Regions from separate parts of the Homo sapiens genome. Here regions 1, 3 and 4 are each linked to region 2. Evidence: promoter capture Hi-C in human tissues and cell types (Jung and others, 2019). All regions are on one chromosome and are shown on one strand. The core of a region is centred on a gene start or on the middle of the fragment in contact, and the rest is flanking DNA. Distances in the headings are between cores, read along the strand shown. Region 1 overlaps TNFRSF10C (TNF receptor superfamily member 10c). Region 2 holds the start of CCAR2 (cell cycle and apoptosis regulator 2). Region 3 overlaps BMP1 (bone morphogenetic protein 1). Region 4 overlaps PIWIL2 (piwi like RNA-mediated gene silencing 2).

Region 1 (3,008 bases), core at 49-2,548, 500 kb after region 2:
GCGCCTGGCCCGGGTTGTAGTTTGAAGAGTGAGCAGGAAATGTCTCCATCCAGGTGGCTGCAGATGGCTACTCACCCAGGCTGTACTGAGAGGCCACAGTCCCAGTTCTGGTCCTCTGTCGTGTATCCAGGAGTGGCAGGGCAGTGAGGCTCTAGCTTCTAGGTCAGGGATGGGGACAGTGGGGACAGTGCCATGCCCCGAGCCTCTGCCGTTGGGCAGCTGGTATCCTGCTTCCAGCCAGAGAATGCACATCTTCATGTAGTGGATTTCCTAACAACCCGGGGAGATGAAGGTAGGTTGTTTTTCCTGTTTTACAAGTGGTAAAATGAGATTCAGGGCTAGAGTTCTCTGAGCAGCTGCTTCTCTGATCTCTGTCCTGCCCTTGGCCTCTGGGAGCTCTTATGGTTCCTCAGCAGAGTTCACAGGGCTCTTGGAGCCTGTCCTTCGGCCTTGAGCTGAGGCCACAACTGCGCGCACTTCATAGGCTTGAGGGGAAAGTGATTCATCCAGGAAGTAAACAGTGAGCCCTTTACTCTGAGAACACCTGTGCCTGGAGTCCGCCGGAGTTTGGGAGGACAAATGAACCCCATGTGAATCCTGTTCCCTGGAGCCCGCAGTGTGGTGGGAGAGGTGACCCAGGGATTATATAACTAATAGGAGGTAGCATGAAGGAGGCCTGAGATCTCACTACCCTTGCCTCCCCCTCCTCCAGAGAGGCTGTGCTGGAGAGAGGCCATGCTGTTGCAGGGCCATAGGATGTGGTACTGTTGGCCTGGAAGATGTGGTTTGATTACAGTCACCATTGAGGGTCAGGGAGGGGAGCGAAGCTCTCCTTTAGATGCCCCCCCACCCGATTTTTTTTTTTTTTTTTTTAGCTGGGCCTGAGAATTTGATTCACCTAAGAGAGGTCCACAGGAGACAAGCACACACATTTATTTAATTCAAGTTTTACCTGGCATGGAAGAACCTGTGAGAGTCAGTTACTTATTTACTGAATTAGACCAAGTAACTCATGAAGAAGCAAGTAACTATGTGAGGAGCTAAAAAGATGAGAGTGGATCCATTCTAACATGGTCTGCACAGTACCCTCTTGGCCTCGACTTCTCATCCTTAAAAATAAGGAAATTGTCAGCTGGGTGCGGTGGCTCACGCCTGTAATCCCAGCACTTCGGGAGGTCAAGGCAGGTGGATCACGAGGTCAGGAGATCGAGACCATCCTGGCTAACACAGTGAAACCCCGTCTCTACTGAAAATACAAAACAATTAGCGGAGTGTGGTGGCGGGTGCCTGTAGTCCCAGCTACTGGAGAGGCTGAGGCAGGAGAATGGTGAGAACCTGGGAAGCAGAGCTTTCAGAAAAAAAAAAAAAGGAGATTGTCCTATGTTTCCCTGGGGACTTTCATCTCCTGCTTTTAGGAAACACAAAAGAGGTCAAAGGATCTTCTTGCACCTGTTGTTTTTCAATAGCCTTTAATTCATAATAGTCAATTGACCAGGGTGGGCAGGGTGCGATGGCTCACACCTGTAGTCCTGCCAAGACAGGCAGATCACTTGAGCCCAGGAGTTCAAGACCAGCCAGGGCAACATAGCAAAACCCGGTCACAACAACAACAACAAAAAACCAAACAAACAGAAAAACAGAAAAACACAGAAAATTATGTCGTGTGAAGGAATCCACACAGAATGCTTACCATCTGATTCCATTTCTCATTAAAATTCGACCAATCTATTCTGACAAAAAGCAGAATTATTGCTGGGGACATAGGAGCAAAGCGGAAGAGAGGATTACATTGAAGAATGAAGAAATTCTGGGGTGTGGTGGACATGTCATTTTCTTATCGTGGTGGTAGTTCCACAATGTATACACACGTCTCAATCTACCAAACTACATGCTTCAAAAATGTACACTTTGTTTCATGCCCATTATACCTCAATGAATCCATTTTTAAAAAACCTTCAATAGAATGTAAACACTTGAGTGTATACTGTATTCCCTATAGCACTTGCACATAGATCATGGAAATAGGTATGCATAAAAAGTCAGTTTATCCAATTAAAATGGAATTCTAAAAGGTAATTAACATTAAAATGTGCAGGGGGAAAAGGAGTAAAAAAATTAGACTAGACAATCATAGCTTAAATGGTAAACTTACAGGTCTATTTCAACTATATCAATTATTGCACTCCCTGTAAATCCACTGAGCACTACAGTTCAATGGTAGAAATGTTTGGAAGGGCTGAGAAAGCAAGACTCAACTATATCTTGTCTATATGAGATGGGCCTTAAAAGGAAGACACAGATGTTGTCTGTTGAAAGTAAATAGATGGAAAAAGATACACCATGCAGAGTGTAAGGCCAAGAAAACTGCCATGGCTATCTCAGTATCAGATGAAGTTGATTTTGTTAGCGGTGGATGAGATCCGAGTTACCCTACGTTGAAGGCGGCGAATCCGTATGCGTCCACAGCACCTTCAGCTCTTCGCCTCCTGAGAAGAAAGAACTGGTTTGAGGGGCATAAGGCAGAAGCAGAGATGGAGGCAAGTTTCAGAGCAGGAGTGAAAGTTTATTAAAAAGCTTTAGAACAGGAAGGAAAGGAAGGAACAGGAAGGAAAGGAAGGAACAGAAAGAAAAGAAGGAAAGTACACTTGGAAGATGGCCAAGCAGGTGACTTGAGAAACAGTACGCAGCCGGACCGCCTGAGTTGGGGTTTTATAGGTTGGCCTACTTCCAGGATCTTGCCTTACTTCTCCCCACTCCTGAAATCTTATTGGGAAGCTGCTGATCAGTTTCAAGTGTTTTCTATGTATTAGGAAACTGCTTTTTTCTGGCATCGGCTGTAACCAGTTATTACTTTAGAGACACAGTTATCAACTACCTGATGGTCGCCCAACACTGCTGGTGTCAGAAGCGGGGACCCCTCTCCTGTCCTGCTCATACCTAACTAGCTGCCTACTGTGACAATTTTAGGACATTGAATATTATGGGAGATGAAAAGGGACCTTTGTAGT
Region 2 (2,824 bases), core at 215-2,714:
TTTCTGTAGGCTGAGACCTCTCGGTGCACCTGGTGACCCTGGGTGGAGGGGACTTGCTGTGAAGTCTTCCTCGCCCTCTGCCCTCTTGCTGCTTCTCCACATTGCCAGGAAAAGCTGCTGACGCCTGCCCTCCTCTCTTGAGTCGAGGGCTGAATCTTTCTCCTCTAAGCAGTCTGGTCAGGAACCTTGGTTTCTTGAGAGGCCCCCAAGATGCCGCAGCTCCAGGGCTCTTCCTCCTCACCAGAAATCCCTGGGCTTCCACAATGTGAACTCACTCATTGTCAGGTGTCCGTGGAGTGTTTTTGGCATGGTGACCTGTCTGGGCCCAGCATGTTGCAGATGTGTATTTATGCGCAATGGTATGCATATCTCTGTGTGACTGTCAGTGTTGCAAGCTGGCTGGATCCAACCATCTCTTCTGAAATAATGCATCCAAAGGGTTGATATTCTGGGGGAGGTCACTGCAGAAGGATGGAACTGACCTTTATTCCCCAGTGGGCAGTTACTGAGCTTTCCTCCTCAGAGCCATGCTGGCAGCCCTGGGACAGAGAACGGTGTGGCTTTGGCTGCCTCTGCATGGAATCTTGCCCCGGACTCCTGAAGACTGCACAAGGAATGAGGAAGATCAGGGACAACCTGGGAACTGAATAACTTTCAAAGCCAGTGCTCAGCTTCTCTGCTCCGTACTAGCGTTTACAGGTCTTAATTCAAACCAGATGCCTGTACTAGTTTTTAGACCCCAAGTCAACCTTTCTGAGCCACAGCTTCCCGCTGGGAATAATGATGCCTGCCCTATCTACCTCACAGACTTGTTATGAGGATAAAGTGAGATTAAACTGCCTCAAAGTGCTTTGTAAACCTCAGGTGAATAGGAAAGGGGAAAGTAAGGCTGGAGTGATGATGGGGAGGTCGGAGGATAAGGGGGGGCTGGGATTGCTAATGGGGACTAAAATGGCCAGTCTCCTGGCAAGATTTTGAGCAGGTCATTTCATTGAGGCCTCTTAGATTTCATATTTGAGAATTAGGGCACTGATTCCTGACTGGCTAGGCATGGTGGTCACTGGCTTGAGTCAGACCAGGAATGTCTCTTAGAAATGGTCACTGATAGGCATCCTTCTCCTCCAGTCAGGAGGGGCTGGTTTCCTTATCTGTTGCAGTCTCGACTGCCAGAGGGAGGCGAGCGTGGTAGGCAGTCGGGGGTCCCTTGTGTTTGGGGGGCCCAGCTCCCGCTTCCTTTGAGCCCGGAACCAATGATCCGAAGCCTTCTTTCCTGATGGGATTCTTTAGCGAGGACACTACCGAGGCGCGACTTCCTGACGCGCATCCGATCCGGGAAGGCGCACTTCCGCTCCCCAGTTGCCGCGGGATGGCAAGCCGGCGTGGGGGAAGGGAGAGGTCGGCGGAGACGAGGGAGGGACCATATCCGGGAGAGCGGCAGCTTCCGACCAGTGGTCGCGCTTCCGGAGAGGCGCTTCCGGTGGCGGCGGCAGCAGCGGCTGTGGTGGTTCCGGGTGTCTTTGTCCCCCCGGTGTCGCTGCCCTGGCCCGCAGGTGGGTTGGGGGGCCCCCTGCCGCCCCTCTGCCCCTTCGCCCCTCCGCCCCTCCGCTGGCCGAGGGGCTGCGAGGGCCGGGCGGCGAAGATGCGTGGGGCGCGGAAGGGGCCGAGCCCCTCTTTGGACTGCAAGTCCCGTCTCCCTGGCAACGGCCTCGGCCTTGGGGGCGGGCGGGAGGAGGAGAAACCGCGCGCCTCAGTCCTCCCTTGGTGGCCTCGCCGCGGCTCTGCTGGGAGACCCGGCGCTGGCGGCTGCTGAGGCCGGAGCGGAGGGCCCGGGAGCGTGGGAGCAGGAGGGTGGCGCGCAGCCGGTTTCGCGTTTGGTCGGCCAGGGAGCTGCCTTCCCACCAGCCGGTCGAGGAAACAACGGGTCGGGCTTCCGGGGAGAGGGCCCACACAGTCTCCTCGCCGGCACCGGCCTCCTCCATTTTTCCGGGCCTTGCGTGGAGGGTTTTGGCGGATGTTTTTGAACGAAGGAATGTCATCGGGGCTCTCTCGAGCCCCTCACCCCGCCAGCTACTCTGGGGGTGGCGTGGCATAGTGAGAGGAGCGCTAAGTTGTTGGGAGGCCTGGGTGTGAGTAGCAGTTTTGTCACTACCTGGTTATGTGGCCCCGGGCAAGTCTCTTGATCTCTCTGAGCATCAGTTTCCTTGTCTGTAAAACAGCATGACAGTATCATGCACCACTAGGTTATTGTCAGGGCAAACTGGAACAATGTAATTTCTTGTTTCATTTCTTTCTTCTCTATATTCTCTCCATCCATTGCTTTCATTCATTCTTATTACCCACCTCCCTGTTTTCCGAAATATCCTTACTTAAGATTCTCCACTTTTCCGGGTATAGATGGAAATTTCCCTTATAAGCTGTTAATTTCTTTCTTTTTGGATTGAAGCCTTTTCCCCACGACTCTGAAAGAGGACAGCGTTCCCAATGTCCCAGTTTAAGCGCCAGCGGATCAACCCGCTTCCAGGGGGACGCAACTTCTCAGGTGATCACTGTTCTCCCTACCTGGCCTCATCCTGGGAAGTATGTGCTCTGGAGTTAGTTTGGGGTTTCCCTGGTGGAGAGCAATTTGCTGCTGATGTTCCTCTGGAAAGCAGGAGATGCCCACAGTGATTGCCAGTGAAGCTCTGTGGAGGAGCTGGCTGGAGCTGTAGCCTTTGGATTTACCACATCCTTTGGTTGACTCGTGCTTAAGGTGGTAGGGGCGGTTCCTGGAGATTGCTTCTCTTTCCCCATAGGCACAGCTTCAACATCTCTTCTGGGCCCTCCT
Region 3 (2,746 bases), core at 29-2,528, 400 kb before region 2:
TCAGCTTGTAAATCTGAGTCGGGGCAGGGCGTGGTGGCTCATGCCTGTAATCCCAGCACTTTGGGAAGCTGATGGGGGCAGATTGCCTGAGCTCAGGAGCTCAAGACCAGCCTGGGCAACATGGCAACACCCGTCTCCACTAAAAATACAAAAAATTAGCCAGGCGTGGTGGCGCAAGCCTATAGTCCCAACTGCTTGGGAGGCTGAGGCACAAGAATCGCTTGAACCTGGGAGGCAGAGGTTGCAGTGAGCCAGGATCGCGCCACTTCACTCCAGCCTGGGCAACAGAGCAAGACCCTGTCCCCCCCCACCCCGCCCGCCCCCGCAAAAAGAAATTGAGTTGGGGAAGCCATGCTTTTCAGAGGCAGAAGTCAGATTGCCGTGGATTGAGGAGACCTGCCGTGAGAGTGTGGCCATAGCGAGTGTTCTCGAAGGCTAGCTGGAAACAAAAGGAGAGCGATGGGCTGTAGCTGGAGGGGCCTGGGAGAGCTCTTTCAGGATGTGTGAAGGTTCCGAGGCTGCAGAGCTGAGTGAGAGCGTGAGGCTGGATCATTTGTGGTGTGAGGGTTCCCACGCGTGGGCAGCAATGAGCTGCACCTCCCAGAAGGGCAGTCCATCCTGACGGGGAGGAGGGACACTTGCTCTGAGGCTTCAGGGCAGCAGGGTAGCAGGGTAGGTGGGTTTGCAGGTCGGAGTCCAGAGGTTGAAGCCATTCATGGTGGAAGGCCCTGGCTTTGTCAGGAGGTAGGAGAGAGGTGGTCTGCCACTGGGAGCTGACACAGTGGCTTGAGGAGGGGGCTGGATGTTTGCAGCAGTTACTAAGGAGGTGAGAGATGGAGCTGGTAAAGGCCAATCCAAAGAGTATCAAGTGGTCTGGGGGCCCAGGTGAGGCTGGAGCCACAGGTGGAGTTTTCTAAGATAGTGCTGTGCAGAGCCGGGGATGCAGGGCCACGCAGGGTGCAGAGGAGCAGGCTGGGTGGTCAGCCCTGCAGTCAGTTAAGTCAATCGAGGAGGAAATAGTGGGAGAGAATAGAAAGATCAAGACCCTGGAGGTCTCTCTAAAATTAAGAGGCCAGCCAGGCACAGTGGCTCATGCCTGTGACCCTAGCACTTTGGGAAGCTGAGGCAGGAGGATCGCTTGAATCCAGGAGTTTGACATCAGCCTGGGCAACATAGTGAGACCCCATCTCTACAACAAGCAAAAATGAAAAAAATTACCCAGGTGGCATGCCTGTAGTCCCAGCTACTTGGGAGGCTGAGGCGGGAGGATCAATTGAGCCTAGGAGCTCAAGGCTATGGTGAGCTATGATCGCACTACTGTACTCCAGCCTGGGTAGCAAAGTGAGGACCCATTTTTGTTTTTGTTTTTTAATTTTAATAAAGCCAAATGACCATGATCAGGAAGGTGAGGTCCTGAGCACCCCGAAGGAACAGGAGGTGGCCACAGAGGGGTGATGTGTTTGTGATGTGAAGAAACAGTGGATGATGACAAAGCCCTCAAGGAACCGAGAGGCCGTCTTGGGTGGACCGTTATATGTCTGTTGACTTCACCTGGGAGGGTAGCAGGAGTGGGGGTGGGGAGAACTGAGTCAGGTGTCAAAGTCCCCTGTGACTGTCCAGGCTGCTGGAGATCAGTGGATGACAGCTTCAAGGAGGGGCACAGGTCAGCCGGGTGCAGTGGCTCACGCCTGTAATCCCAGCACTTTGGAAGGCCTAGGCAGGTGGATCACTTGGGGCCAGGAGTTCGAGACCAGCCTGGCCAACATGGTGAAACTCTGTCTCTACTAAAAATACAAAAATTAGCCAGGCATAGTGGCTCACGCCTGTAATCCCAGCACTTTGGGAGGCCAAGGTGGGTAGATCTCCTGAGGTCGGGAGTTTGAGACTAGCCTGGCCAACATGGCGAAACCCCGTCTCTACTAAAAATACAAAAATTAGCCAGAGATGGTGGCGCACGTCTGTAATCCAAGATACTGAGGAGGCTAAGGCAGGAGAATCACTTAAACCTGGGAGGTGGAGGTTGCAGTGAGCCGAGATCACACCACTGCACTCCAGCCTGGGCAACAGAGCGAGACTCCATCTCAAAAAAAAAAAAAAGAAAGAAAGAAAAGAAAAATGGAGAGGCACAGGTGATATGACCCCTGTGGCCCAACACCTACAAAGGTCTGGGGGTTGTCCAGGGAGCCTGCGATGGCTGCTTCATGAGTGCTGCCATGTGAGGCCTCACTCAAGGCTTTTGTAGGAATCGGGCAGCTAGATTTTCCCCAGACGCAGTAACCTCATGAAAAAGAAACGATGCCTGCCTGCCATCCAGTTCATAAGTGGGACAAGAGATGGAAGAAAGGAGGGGGGGCAGGAGGGAAGGGCCTTCCCCACAGGAGGCATCGGAGCTTGGGGTCCCTCTCTATCCCCTTCCGTCACTCGCTTCCCTGCAGCCGGCTGTGACCACAAGGTGACATCCACCAGTGGTACCATCACCAGCCCCAACTGGCCTGACAAGTATCCCAGCAAGAAGGAGTGCACGTGGGCCATCTCCAGCACCCCCGGGCACCGGGTCAAGCTGGTAAGGGGTCCCCTCCCCACTCCTTATGCGGTGTGGCTGCCCCCGGTCAGAGGCACTGCCCAGAGCCACACAGGCTGCAGGCTGAGCCCAGAGGTCTGCCATCCCCAGGAGACCCCAAGTCTGGCCTGGACAGAGGCCCCTTTCCCAGTATAAATTAGGGGCGTCCCTGCCTTCGCCCTATTC
Region 4 (3,091 bases), core at 365-2,864, 320 kb before region 2:
CCGAGCCAGGGCAAAAAAAAATTTTTTTTTAGTCAGGTGTGGTGGTACCCTTATAGTCCCAGTTACTTGGGGGACTGAGGCAGAAGGATCACTTGAGCCCAGGAGTTTGAGATGGCAGTGAGCTATGATCATGCCAGTGTACTTCAGCCTGGGTGACAAAGGAAGACCCTATCTCAAAAAAAAAAAGGGAGATGGGGAGAAGTCTTCCTCTTAAAATGGAGTGACAAATGTTAAGGAAACAAAGGGAGAGTCACTTGAACTTGGGAGGTGGAGATTGCAGTGAGCTGAGATGGCTTCACTGCACTCCAGCCTGGGCGGCAGAGCGAGACTCCGTCTCAAAAACAAATGTGTATATATGAAAGAATATACACTGACGTGCTAAGGCAGGTGTCCTTTGGTGGTAGGATTTGGTGGTTTTTATTTTTTTATGACCTATGGTTTCTGATGTTTCAGCTGCGAGCAGGTCTTCTTGAGTCAAAGTTCTAGGCAGATAGATAATTTTTAATATGCCCGCTAGATGGAGCAGCAGTTACTGGGTAACTAGCACCTGTTGCACAGCTCTGGTAAAGATTGCAGTTTGAGTCAAGTTAAAGGAAAATCCTCTTCATTATTTTCCAGCCCCAATGTGGAGTGCAAAAGCATGAGGTTCGGCATGTTGAAGGACCATCAAGCTGTCACCGGCAACGTCACTGCGTTTGATGGATCTATTCTCTATCTGCCTGTTAAGCTTCAACAAGTGAGACCAAACAGGAAATGGACTTTGAGATGAACCCTAAGAGTGCTCTGGCGTTTTTTGTTTGGTTTTGCTTTTAAGAGATTGGGTCTTGCTATGTTGCCCAGACTGGTCTCGAATTCCCAAAGCCCTGGGACTACAGGCGTGTGAGCCACTTCACCTGGCCCAGGACTGGTGTTTTGAGGGGTAGGAAACCATAGAATTCCTGTATGTTCGAGTTGTGCTTTTCTGTTCATAGAGGGGAAGACAGATTTCTGCAGGACATCACAGCACATTTTAGGTTTGAATTCCTCAAGAAGCACCTTCTCACATGAGAGGAATGGTTGGAAGTCTGTGACCTCAGTGATAAAGAGTAACTTAAAATTGCAAATGTAGGCCGGGTGCGGTGGCTCACGCCTGTAATCCTAGTACTTTGGGAGGCTAAGTCAGGTGGATCACGAGGTCACGAGATTGAGACCATCCTGGCTAACACGGTGAAACCCTGTCTCTACTAAAAATAAAAAAAATTAGCTGGGCATGGTGGCAGGCGCCTGTAGTCCCAGCTACTCAGGAGGCTGAGGCAGGAGAATGGCGTCAACCCAGGAGGCGGAGCCTGCAGTGAGCCGAGATCACGCCACTGCACTCCAGCCTGGGTGACAGAGCGAGACTCTGTCTCCAAAAAAAAAAAAAAAAAAAATTGCAAATGTAAACTTGGTTGGAATTCTCTTACCAAATCATTTTTCTGAATCGTAGTTGTCATGCTGTGCTTTTGCTAGTGTGGGCAACAAAGTGAGGGGAAAAGTAGAAAAATGTTTTAAGATACTTTAGTGTTCTTAAGAACACAGTTGAATTAGATTAGGACTTGGTCATTAGTTCTTAGTTTTGTCATTTTGTTTCACCTGTGTGTATTTATTTGTTAGGTTCTTGAGTTAAAAAGTCAAAGGAAAACAGACAGTGCTGAAATCAGCATTAAGATTCAGATGACAAAGATCCTGGAGCCCTGCTCTGACCTGTGCATTCCCTTCTACAATGTTGTTTTCCGTCGGTAAGAAAACAGCTGAAGTTCTATTGTCCTGTAACTTCAGTCTTGTATTTACAGTAATGTTCTTCAAGATACTTGGATGGAAATACGTGACAGTATATTCTAGATGGGTTTGGAAGCATTTAATGAATAAATGGATGGTATTGAGGCTAACTTACTCAAAAATTATCTCACAAGTGGTAGACCAGATTTGAATATATGAAATTAGGTTTGGAGGTAGCTGGATAGGGGAACGGGTTCCTCCAGTTGTGTTCAGGAACTTTGAAAGCGGCTGTTGATAGTGCATATTTAATGGTGACGGTAACAAGGGGGCTACTTAAAGAGGTTGTGTGTAAAAATATTTGCTGGAAGGATTTTTCAGTGTCTTGAATTTTTGGATTACAGACAGCTCATAATTGTTTAACTTCTTTTGAAACATCCTAGTTTTCATACAGCCGCTATTCTCTTATTTAATGAAACACAACCTAATTTCTTTTCTTTTCTTTTTTCTTTTTTTTTTTTTTTTTGAGAGACGGAGTCTCGCTCTGTCGCCAGGCTGTAGTGCAGTGGCGCAATCCCGGCTCACTGCAACCTCCGACTCCCTGGTTCAAGTGATTGTCCTGCCTCAGTCTCCTGAGTAGCTGGGATTACAGGCATGCGCTGCCACGTCTGGCTAATTTTTGTATTTTTAATAGAGATGATGTTTCATCTTGTTGGCCAGGATGGTCTCGATCTTTTGACCTCGTGATCTGTCCACCTCAGCCTCCCAAAGTGCTGGGATTAGAGGCGTAAGCCACCGCGCCCGGCCCATGGAACCTAATTTCTACCTAGTAAGTTGAACTGCCAGGAGTAAACATAGCTCCCTTTGCCACACTGTTATTCACACACTTAGCAATGGGCTGTCTTGCATTCTTCGTAGTTAGTGGTGAAAAGTAACGTAATAAAACCTTGGAAACCAACTCAGTGTTTGGTCAGCTAGTAAGTGGAAAAGACTGCTGTCATTTTGCTTTGCTTTTTCAGTCAAATGCTTTGGCAGTTTTTGGTTTTCTTTTAACAAGATTGTTCTCAATATAAAAGCTGTCTTCTGCAAAGAGCACAAACATTTCTAACCGTTCAGACTTCCAAAGGCAAATGTAGCTAAGAATAATGGAACATAATTTTATTACTCTTCTATTAGAAAACTCATACTTGCTTTTTATTTCAGGGTAATGAAACTTTTAGATATGAAGCTTGTGGGGAGAAACTTTTATGACCCTACAAGTGCTATGGTACTACAGCAACACAGGTTGGTACTTTTTTCCCTTCCCTCACTTTTGAATGTTCTGGAAAGAAAGTTTCCATTACAACCATTGTATTTA

Evidence for each region. Contacts are between HindIII fragments. The study calls those that stand out against the background at their distance.
Region 1: a contact is called between a fragment that was not itself captured here and the fragment with the promoter of CCAR2 in region 2, in 1 of the 25 tissues and cell types used here (spleen).
Region 3: a fragment that was not itself captured here is called in contact with the fragment with the promoter of CCAR2 in region 2 in 1 of the 25 tissues and cell types used here (liver).
Region 4: a contact is called between a fragment that was not itself captured here and the fragment with the promoter of CCAR2 in region 2, in 1 of the 25 tissues and cell types used here (mesenchymal stem cells).

Annotation. Positions count from the first base shown.
Region 1 is chr8:23,105,575-23,108,582 of GRCh38, forward strand. The region is part of intron 1 of TNFRSF10C (TNF receptor superfamily member 10c); the gene reads left to right. Among named protein-coding and RNA genes, the nearest start is that of TNFRSF10C, 4.2 kb to the left of the region's middle. The HindIII fragment of the contact is 5,895 bases long and covers 1-3,008 here.
Region 2 is chr8:22,603,293-22,606,116 of GRCh38, forward strand. It overlaps CCAR2 (cell cycle and apoptosis regulator 2), which reads left to right and starts at 1,465. Exons shown (of 21, transcript NM_001393997.1): 1 at 1,465-1,550; 2 at 2,444-2,539; 3 at 2,793-2,824. The coding sequence starts at 2,482. It overlaps C8orf58 (chromosome 8 open reading frame 58), which reads left to right. Exons shown (of 7, transcript NM_001013842.3): 7 at 1-850. The coding sequence ends at 14. It overlaps LOC107986876 (a long non-coding RNA gene), which reads right to left and starts at 1,708. Exons shown (of 1, transcript NR_160769.1): 1 at 1-1,708. RefSeq lists enhancers at 1,183-1,292, 1,299-1,799 and silencers at 1,463-1,762, 1,823-1,882. The HindIII fragment of the contact is 3,664 bases long and covers 987-2,824 here.
Region 3 is chr8:22,204,419-22,207,164 of GRCh38, forward strand. BMP1 (bone morphogenetic protein 1) reads left to right here. Exons shown (of 20, transcript NM_006129.5): 17 at 2,436-2,563. Among named protein-coding and RNA genes, the nearest start is that of PHYHIP, 26 kb to the right of the region's middle. The HindIII fragment of the contact is 8,100 bases long and covers 1-2,746 here.
Region 4 is chr8:22,286,910-22,290,000 of GRCh38, forward strand. PIWIL2 (piwi like RNA-mediated gene silencing 2) reads left to right here. Exons shown (of 23, transcript NM_018068.5): 7 at 619-736; 8 at 1,633-1,757; 9 at 2,938-3,018. Among named protein-coding and RNA genes, the nearest start is that of PIWIL2, 13 kb to the left of the region's middle. The HindIII fragment of the contact is 4,874 bases long and covers 1-3,091 here.